3 separate regions of the Homo sapiens genome follow, and all the other regions are linked to region 1. The links are contacts of gene promoters, found by promoter capture Hi-C in blood cells and fetal thymus (Javierre and others, 2016). All regions are on one chromosome and are shown on one strand. Each heading gives the region's core, a stretch centred on a gene start or on the middle of the fragment in contact. The rest is flanking DNA. Distances are from core to core; before and after follow the strand shown.

The links. The method cuts DNA at HindIII sites, captures the fragments that hold promoters and counts their contacts. A CHiCAGO score of 5 or more calls a contact.
Region 2: a fragment that was not itself captured here is called in contact with the fragment with the promoter of PJA1 in region 1 in 2 of 17 cell types (activated CD4 T cells and total B cells); the score reaches 7.1 in activated CD4 T cells.
Region 3: a contact is called between a fragment that was not itself captured here and the fragment with the promoter of PJA1 in region 1, in 1 of 17 cell types (naive CD8 T cells). The highest score is 5.4, in naive CD8 T cells.

The regions. Positions count from the first base shown.
Region 1 is chrX:69,163,866-69,166,865 of GRCh38, forward strand. It overlaps PJA1 (praja ring finger ubiquitin ligase 1), which reads right to left and starts at 1,588. Exons shown (of 2, transcript NM_001032396.4): 1 at 1,507-1,588. The HindIII fragment of the contact is 4,972 bases long and covers 1-1,992 here.
Region 2 is chrX:64,207,925-64,210,924 of GRCh38, forward strand. All of the region lies in intron 2 of LOC112268307, which reads left to right. It also overlaps the pseudogene RN7SL799P. Among named protein-coding and RNA genes, the nearest start is that of AMER1, 3.7 kb to the left of the region's middle. The HindIII fragment of the contact is 784 bases long and covers 1,020-1,803 here.
Region 3 is chrX:64,390,752-64,393,751 of GRCh38, forward strand. All of the region lies in intron 1 of MTMR8 (myotubularin related protein 8), which reads right to left. Among named protein-coding and RNA genes, the nearest start is that of MTMR8, 3.2 kb to the right of the region's middle. The HindIII fragment of the contact is 2,438 bases long and covers 387-2,824 here.

The sequences.
Region 1 (3,000 bases), core at 338-2,837:
ATGAAAATGACAGGCATGGGTGGGGTGGCTTTGGAGGAGAGGGGTGCGTGTATGTATGAGGAAAGGGAAGGTGTTTGTGTGTGTAGCTGTATGTGAGGCAGCTGAAACTACAGAAGGATGCCCATGTTTATGCGTATGTCACAGGCAGAGGAGTGTATGGTTGGCAATGGAGAGGAGTGTCTGAGAGTTTGTGTGTGTGTATGTTAGTCAAAATGGGAGGCAACAATGGAGAAATGTCAGTGTGAGCAAATGCAGCAGGCACAAATGGAAGCGGGGGTGGGGGGTGCGCAGCACTGGAGAGGGATGTGCTTGAGGTGGATGGAACAGAGGCAGGCAATCAAAGAATGATGCCTGCCTGTGTGGATATGGCAAGCAGGGAGGCAGGTTGTGTCCCCGTAGAAGGATTTATGTGAGTGCGAGTGTGTGCACCTCAGGGACCAGCAAAAGAGAGCTGTGTCTGACACACGTGGCAGACAGAGCAATAGAGGAGAGCATTTGAGAAGGGGGTATGAATGAGCACATGTGGCTACATATGTATGTCACTGGCCAGCGATAGAAGGATGTCCTTATGTGTGTATATGACAGGAAGGAAGAAGGAGGGCAGCCGGAGGGGGTGTGTGAATAGGCATGTGTTCGCGAGAGCACGCAGAGGCCGAGCAGGGAGGGGGCCGGTGCTAGAGGTGTGTATGTGGTAGGCGGATAGAGGAGGGGGAAGGCATGGGAGGGTGTGAGGGTGTGAGGGTGTGTGAGAGGGTGTGTGCTGCGTGTGCCTGCGCATGCGCGGGGGAGGGGAAGCACTGGAACCTTGAGGATGGAGGGGCAAGGAGGGGGCTGCAATGGAAGGCTTCTGTGCGGGGGCGCGTGCTCGCGACACACGGGGGGTGGGGGGTAGGGGGGACGCAATGTCATAAAAAGAGGTGGGAAAAGGCCATCAGCTCAAACGGGAGACCCCAACCGATGTGGCAGGGGAGAGGGAAAATGAAAGAAAAGGGCGTGCGTGGGTCTAGTTTTCCCTGAGAATAATTATTTTTTCCTTCCAATTTTTTCCCTGGGAACAGTATTTTTACCTAAAAATCTTAACCATTTACCATTTGGCAAAACAACAGCAAAATATGGGAAGAAAGGCCACGGAGTGCTCCGCAAAGGGGCCGAGGAGGGAAGAAGGAAGGAGAGGGGAGGAGAGGCAGGGAGAAGTGGGAGAGGGCCGCGACCACCACTGCCCTCCCAATAGCGATGAAAGCCACTCGAGTGGGGACCGCGCCACACCAAAGGGGTTCCGGCAGCGGAAGATGTGGCCCCAGAACAGGCCGATGGAGGACATGGGCCTCACTCTGCAGTCAGGTCCCGCGTCCGCCCCACCCCTTCCCGAGGGGCGAACCTGAAAAGCAGTTCCCAGGAACCCCCCAAAATCCTCGCCCCCGTGCCCGGCCACTCGCCCCGCGCCCGGCCACTCGCGCCACCGCCAGCGCCCGGATGAATCGAGGAAACAATCAGCCTTTCACTCACCAAGTCCAGAAAGCCACACGCTTTTCAGAGAAGCAGAGCTCTCGGATCTCCGACCGCCACGACCGCCAGAGCCGCTGCTCCCGGTCCCGAGCTCCTCCCCCGCCAGACAGCAGCGGGGCGGGCGGCGACTGCGGCGGCGGAAGTGATTGTGAAGTCAGCTGGAGCCCGCCTCCTTGATGTGGCGGGGGCGGCAGCTGCTCTCCACAAATCAGGGTGGGCCCGAAAGCATTATTTCATCTTAAATGATGAAATCGTCAAGGATACAGAAAAGGACAGCGAAAAATGTCACAAACACCCAGCTTTAACTAATGTTAAACATTTAGCTATATTGCCTTCTGGTTTTTTAATAAATAAAATAAAATCTGCAAATTCTTTCTGATTAAGTCCAATGTGAGAGTAATTACGTTACTACATCACATCCTATGTTACGTGTTATGGTTGTACCGAAAGTATTAAAACTGTGAAACCATATTTAGGGTTGCAGTAAGCTTAAATTTTTTTTAACCTGATGGTTAAAGCAAATTGAAGCTGTTTATGTTGAATTTGTTGCTGCTAATCACAAAACCAAGCTTCTCTGTCCAAGAGATCATAGGACACAACACAGGTTCATATTCTGTTATTGCATTGCAGTTAAAAATATTGTAGTTACGCCTTTTGGATTTATACCATTTTACTGAATTCTGAAGTCTTTAAATTGCGCTTTATAATGGAACTCTAGTATTTACAGCCAATGTAAACATTTCCCATGTTCACAACAGTAGCAAAGTTTTGTTCTTACTGGAAACAAAATGCATAATAGAACAAAAATCTTAGGGGTAACAACATAATAGAAATAAAATGTATAACTTTCAAACCATTAAAGTAATAATATGTGGAACAAAGAGAAAAACTCATTCTTAACAAAGGTCAAGAAATGTTGCTGGGGGGGTACAAAAAAAAGGATGCAAAAAGAAAACAAAAATGCAGGAATCCAAATATATCAGCATGCATTATGGGTTAACATCTCCTAATAAAAACCAAACTCTTATTTTGAGCATTTTGTTTTTAAAAGCTAAGTTATATTCTATTTATGTGAGTTTCACCTAAAGCAGAAATAGGAATAAAAAATATATGAGAGTAAAATACTAGCAGAAAAAAGGGAGAGAGGGAATGAGGGAAGGAAAGAAGCAAAAAAAAAAAAAAGGAAGGAAAGGAAGGAGGAAACAAACTCGTAACAATATCAATATCCTAAACATCGAGAACTCAAAGTAAAAAGAACTAAAGAGAACAAAACAGGTTGCTTTATTCACTGAGAAAGATATGACAAGCTGGTGGTGTGTGCCTGTAGTCCCAACTACTTAGGAGGCTGAAGCAGGAGGATTGTGTGAGCCCAGGAGGTTGAGGCTGAAGTGAGTGAAGATCACGCCACTGCACTCCAGCCTGGACAACCAAGCAAGATGCCATCTCAAAATGATGATGATAATAATAACAATAATAGAACTTCATTGGTGAGAA
Region 2 (3,000 bases), core at 162-2,661, 5.0 Mb before region 1:
AGGAAAAAAAATATTCTTTGTGATCCTAGAGAACTCCCAGCTGAGCACCCTTCTTTATGGTCCAGATATTACTGAGTCTTGGGAGGATACTGTATGTGTGTATTAAAGGGGAAAAGATGTGGGAGGGGACAACACAGCTTCTTGTTTGCATAGCTCACTTCTCTCCAGGGACGATGTATGGAAAGACCAAGTGTGTGCATAAACTTGCACCTCAAAATGCCTCCTCATAGAGAGAGTACTGTAAGACCCCATTCCACATGCTGACTGACACGTGGTCAACTTGCTTAGTCAAGACAGGCACTGGTTGTGAGGAGCTGGAAATCTTTCTTAAGTTTGTTTACCTGCAAAATGGAGATAATCCTCGTGCTGCCTAGTGTCTTGTGGCTGCGGTGAAAAGCCCATAAGAACAGATGTGTGGGCTGTGTGGAGGCAACTTCATAAACTCAAGTAGACACATCATTACAGGGCACATCATTACAATGCTCATTTCTTTCTTCACCAAGTATTCCATAGTCATTTCCTCTATGCCAGGCCTGTTGATAGTTATTGGGAGAAGCAGTACAGTGTTAACCTTTTTGAGGCACCTGGGTATGGAGTTCTGAGAGGAACTGAAATCTACACTAGAGGTCTGGCAAAGGTGTTCTGGAGCATTGCAGATGAAGAGACTCCTTCTCCCCAGGGTGGCAAGGGGTATCAGAGAAAAGTTCTATGGAGGATAGCTTTGACGGTTGGGTCAAGTCAGAAAAGTAGGGGAAGGATTCCTGCCCAAGCCAAAGCCCATCAGTGAGAGGGTATGGTGGGTTGGGCAAGAGCTACAATTCTGGATGGCTGTGGCTAAGTATTTGTGTGGTGGGGAGAGGAAGAGCTGGACATTAGACTAGAAAGAAAGGCCTGGGGCCAAAGTGTAAAAGACCATGACTGCCTGGGTAAATTGAGGCTCAACTAGCTAAGTTCATCTTTTCCAGGAAAGTGGTATGTTGTAGTGGCTCTGCCACCAGACTGCCTGGGCTGGGATGTGAAGCTTGCCACTTAGGAGCAGTATGATCTGGGCAGGTCAATTTACCTCTCTGAGTCTCAACATTTTTTTCTGCAAAATGAAAATAATAGCACCCATGTCAGAGAATTGTGGTAAGAATTGAGTAGTCCATATGAAGTGGCACAGAGGCTAGTACATAAGATGGTATCAATAAATGTTAGTTACTGATGCTGTTATTATTATTGCTATCCTTCTGATCCAATGTACAGATCTTCAAAGTTATGGAACTGCTAATATGACTTTGAAACCAGTTTTTGTTTTGTTTTTGGTTTTTTTTTTGAGACGGAGTCACGCTCTGTCGCCCGGACTGGAGTGCAGTGGAGCGATCTCGGCTCACTGCAAGCTCCGCCTCCCGGGTTCACGCCATTCTCCTGCCTCAGCCTCCCGAGTAGCTAGGACTACAGGTACCTGCCACCACACCCAGCTAATTTTTCGTATTATTAGTAGAGGCGGGGTTTCACTGTGTTAGCCAGGTTGGTCTAGATCTCCTGACCTCATGATCCATCTGCCTTGGCCTCCCAAAGTGTTGGGATTACAGGCGTGAGCCACCACACCTGGCCGAAACCAGTTTTTAATATAAACACACATGAGCCTATGATTCCTTATGAACAGACTCACTTTATTGTGCAGACCCAGACTCAGTTTCCCAGGGCAGAATATTTTGTTCATCTTCATATCCTCAGCACTCAACAGAGAGTTTGGCAGAAACTTGTTGATGAGTATGTATTTACTGAACATGAAATGAGGCATTTTCAGGCCTAATATCAAGCTTAAGTGCCAGCATCCACCAATGAAGTGTGATGTTACCACTCATTGGGCATCTCCTTTGTGCCAGGCCCTGTGTTAAGTGACACACTCATTACCCAGAATGATGGACTACACACAGCTTCTGGTCTCAAGGGCAACCAGTCTAGTGGAAGAGGAAGAAAACTCCTGAGTTTCTTACTTGGACAAGGGACTGCTGGATGGTGTTGTCATCCACTGAACTGAGTAATATAGGAACAGAATTAGGAAAATGTGGCCAGGTGCGGTGGCTCACGCCTGTAATCCCAGCACTTTGGGAGGCCGAGGTGGGCGGATCACAAGGTCAGGAGATCAAGACCATTCTGGCTAACACGGTGAAACCCCGTGTCTACTAAAAATACAAAAAATTAGCCGGGCGTGATGGCGGGCGCCTGTAGTCCCAGCTACTTGGGAGGCTGAGGCGGGAGAATGGCATGAACCTGGGAGGCAGAACTTGGAGTGATCCTTGATCGCTCCACTGCACTCCAGCCTGGGCGACAGAGCGAGACTCCGTCTCCAAAAAAAAAATGATTTTGTTTAGGACATACTGAATTTGACTTGTCAGAAATCCCACCTCAGGGCCTTTGCACTGGCTGCTCCCTCTGCCTACAGTGTTTGTCCTCTGAATATTGGCATAGTTTGCACCTCATTTCCTTCAGGTGGCTGCTCAAATGTCATTAATAGTGACACCTTCACTGAACAGTTGATATATAAAATAGCAATCCCCATTTCCACCCCCTTCACTCTCCAATTCTTTAATAGGCCTTTTTTTCTTATCCACAGCATTTACCACCTCTTGGTATATTTTTTATTGTTATTTATTTTAGAGTCATTTTTAAATTTTCTCTTTCTTATCATGAAAATGGAAGCTCCGTGAGGGATAGACAATGAACAAATATATACATAAAATATACAGTAGGTCAGATGGCAATAAATGTGATGGATATCCTGGGGCAGTGGCACATGCCTGTAGTCCCAGCTACTTGGGAGGCTGAAGCAGGAGGATAGCTTAAGTTCAGGAGTTCTGGGATGTAATGCACTATGCTGATAGGGTGTCTGCACTAAGTTCAGCATCAACATGGTGACCTCCCAGGAGCAGGGGACCACCAGGCTGCCTAAGGAGGTATGAACTGGCCGAGATCAGAAACGGAGCACATAAAAACTTGCATCTTGATCAGTAG
Region 3 (3,000 bases), core at 356-2,855, 4.8 Mb before region 1:
AGCCATCCCCACCGCCCCCCCAGCCTCTCGAGTAGCTGAGACCACAGGTGCAAGCCACCACACCCAGCTAATTTTTTTTAATTTTTTGTACAGATGAGGTTTCACTATGTCACCCAGGCTGGTCTCAAACTCCTGGGCTCAAGTGATCCTCCCATCTGGGGCTCCCAAAATGTTGGGATTACAGGCTTGAGCCAACCAGGCCCAGACAAATTCACTCTTTTAAGTATACAATTCAATTAGTTTTAGTAAATTTGGAGTTGTACAACCATCATCACAATGTAATTTTAGAACATTTCCATCATTCCAAAAAGAAACTTCATCCCCATTCCTCATTTAGATAATCTTTTAAAAGGTCCTTTCTAACTTTTCCATTTCTAGACTTATAAAGCTTTAGTAGCTCCTTGGCTATTTACAAGTTCAAATTCCTCAGTGTAACATTCAAAGTCCTTTACAATCTATAAAATCTTTCACTGTCTTTTTTTTCTACCCACACAAATGTAGAAATTACTTTTTTTGTGTTAAAACATTCCTTAATGAGCTAGCAATTATTTATGTGAAGGAGAGTCCAGAAAACAGATTTTTGACTAAATTATCCTTGTCCTTGATTAAAGAGATTCATGAATTAAACACATAACACTATTCTCTAGAGTAGTTATTGAGGTCTAAGAGGCTGTAAACTTGGAAGAGCTTCTCCCTGCCTGTCAGGCTGCTCCCATCAGATCACAAGACAGAATAGACATATTTTTCAGTCTCTTTCATTTTTGGACCTTGTGCTTGGCATCTCATCACCTTACTTAAGAGATCCCAGAGGGCAGTTGCCATATCCATATCCAGTTATGTATCCTTGACTCCCAATGTGATATTCTGCATATAATAATTAATAACGATGATGATAGTGACTGGTAGCTAAATTAAGCATCTACCATGTGCCAGACATTGTTCTAAGCACTTTACAGATACTAACTTATTTAATTCTTATAACAACCCTGTGAGATAGGTACTATTTTCAACACCATCTTATAGATGAAGAAACTGAGGCAAAAGAGATTATATATTTGCCAAAATCACAAAGCTAGTTAAGTAGCAGAGTTGAGATTTTATTTCAGACAGCCTGGCTCCAAAGTATGCACTCTTAAACCACAGCAAATTGTCAAACCAGTTGAAGCTCAATAAATGTTAATTGCATAAAGCCTTATTATTAAGGTTCCATTCCAGGAAAGAAAAGTAATTAAGAATTCTGGGTGCCAACTGACACAGATGTAATGAGGGTAGGGAAAAATACATAGAACAAATTCTGATTCAGATAGGAGAGTCACCAAACTTTAGGGCAGGTCTGAGACGCTCCAAAAATGGTTGTTGAACCCTAAGCTATATCTTAGATAGATCTGTTCTCATACATAGGTCGTGGGAATGTAAAATTGGTAGTGTCTAGATGAACATATGCATATTCTACGGCCCAGAAATTCCACTCCGATGGCATATACCAACAAAAATGTATATTTAAATCTGTCAAAATGTACTATTGGCAAAAGGCAGAAACTGGAAATTCCCCATCAACAGAAGAATGGATAAATCACATGTGGCATGTTAACAAAACATAATATAGCAATGAGAATGATCTATAACTTCAAGAAATAATATGGATAAATCTTTCAAACAATGTTGAGCAAAAGAAGTCAAACACAAAAGAGAATGTATTAATCCATTTATATTAAGTACAACAAAAGAGTAAAATGAATGTATCCTGTTAGAGGTCAGTATAGTAGTTTACCCTTGGGAGGGGTATTGACTGGAAGGGGGCATGAAGTGGACTTCTAGTAATGTTCTTTTTTTTGTTTGTTTGTTTGTTTTTTGTTTTTGTTTTTTTTAATCTCAGTAGCGGTTGCACAGGTGTGTCCAGTTTTTAAGTTTATAGCACAATGAATACTTCCAATCTATACACTTTTCTTTATGTGTACTGTACTTCAATAATTTTTTAAAGTCTTCCTGAGTAAAGAAAAAGACTCAAGCAAGAGCCAAAAATAAAAGTCACTTTTGTACTTGACATACACAACTAATGACTGACAAACTCAAAGTTATCCCTTTGACCTGAGATGGACAAGGCAGATGTCTCTCTCTTTTATGGAAACAGTGAGTTAACAAAAGGGAGGCCATTTTAATCCCGAGCCATTAATGCAACCCTAATCCTTTCTAGAAACTGAGAAAAAAACAGACTCACAGCAGCATACCACCTGTGGGCACTCACAGCCCTGCCAGGCACCAAAACAAATACTAATTCTGCTTAAAGAATCAAGTCTTCATTTGGAGTTTTTATTTATATTTCAAGACTAATCACACTATCCATGCAGTACAAATGGAGTCTGACCATGATGCAAGTTTAAGTTTTCTTGAGCACGAACCCTATCCCAGCACCAGTCTGAGCACTCCTATCTTTGTTTATTAGGCAAGCATTCCACATCTATGGATCTCAGTTTCCTCATCTGTAACATGGGAATAATAATAGTATCTCCTAATAGGTTATTGTAAGGATTCAAGGCATATTTCAGGTAAAATATTGAACACAGTGCCTGTCACATAGTTAAATATTCTATACGTATTAGCTGCTATTATAATTTTCATATGGGCCCGTTAATGGTTTCTTCTCCCTTCCAATTTCCATAGAGCCAGCCCAGTTTATAGCTTCAATCCCTAACAGGGGAATTTTAATATTTTAACACTCAAGGACAGGAGCAGTTCTGCCTCCCCATCTTCCCCAGTTGTCAAAAGAGAGAAAAAAGGAGTATTCGAGTGAGCTGATTTTGAACTAGACAAGTAACGTGGCCCAAGCTTAGGTGGGTTGGGAGAAGAGGGAGTCTGGACAACAGAAGTTCCTTTCCTTTAATGGTACCACCTTCTTATACCATGTCAGAGGACCCGTACAAATGACATGATCCGGAAACAAAGGGACACAGAAAAAGGCAAGGCTGGCTGGCTTTTACACGGGATGTGGTTATCCTCCAC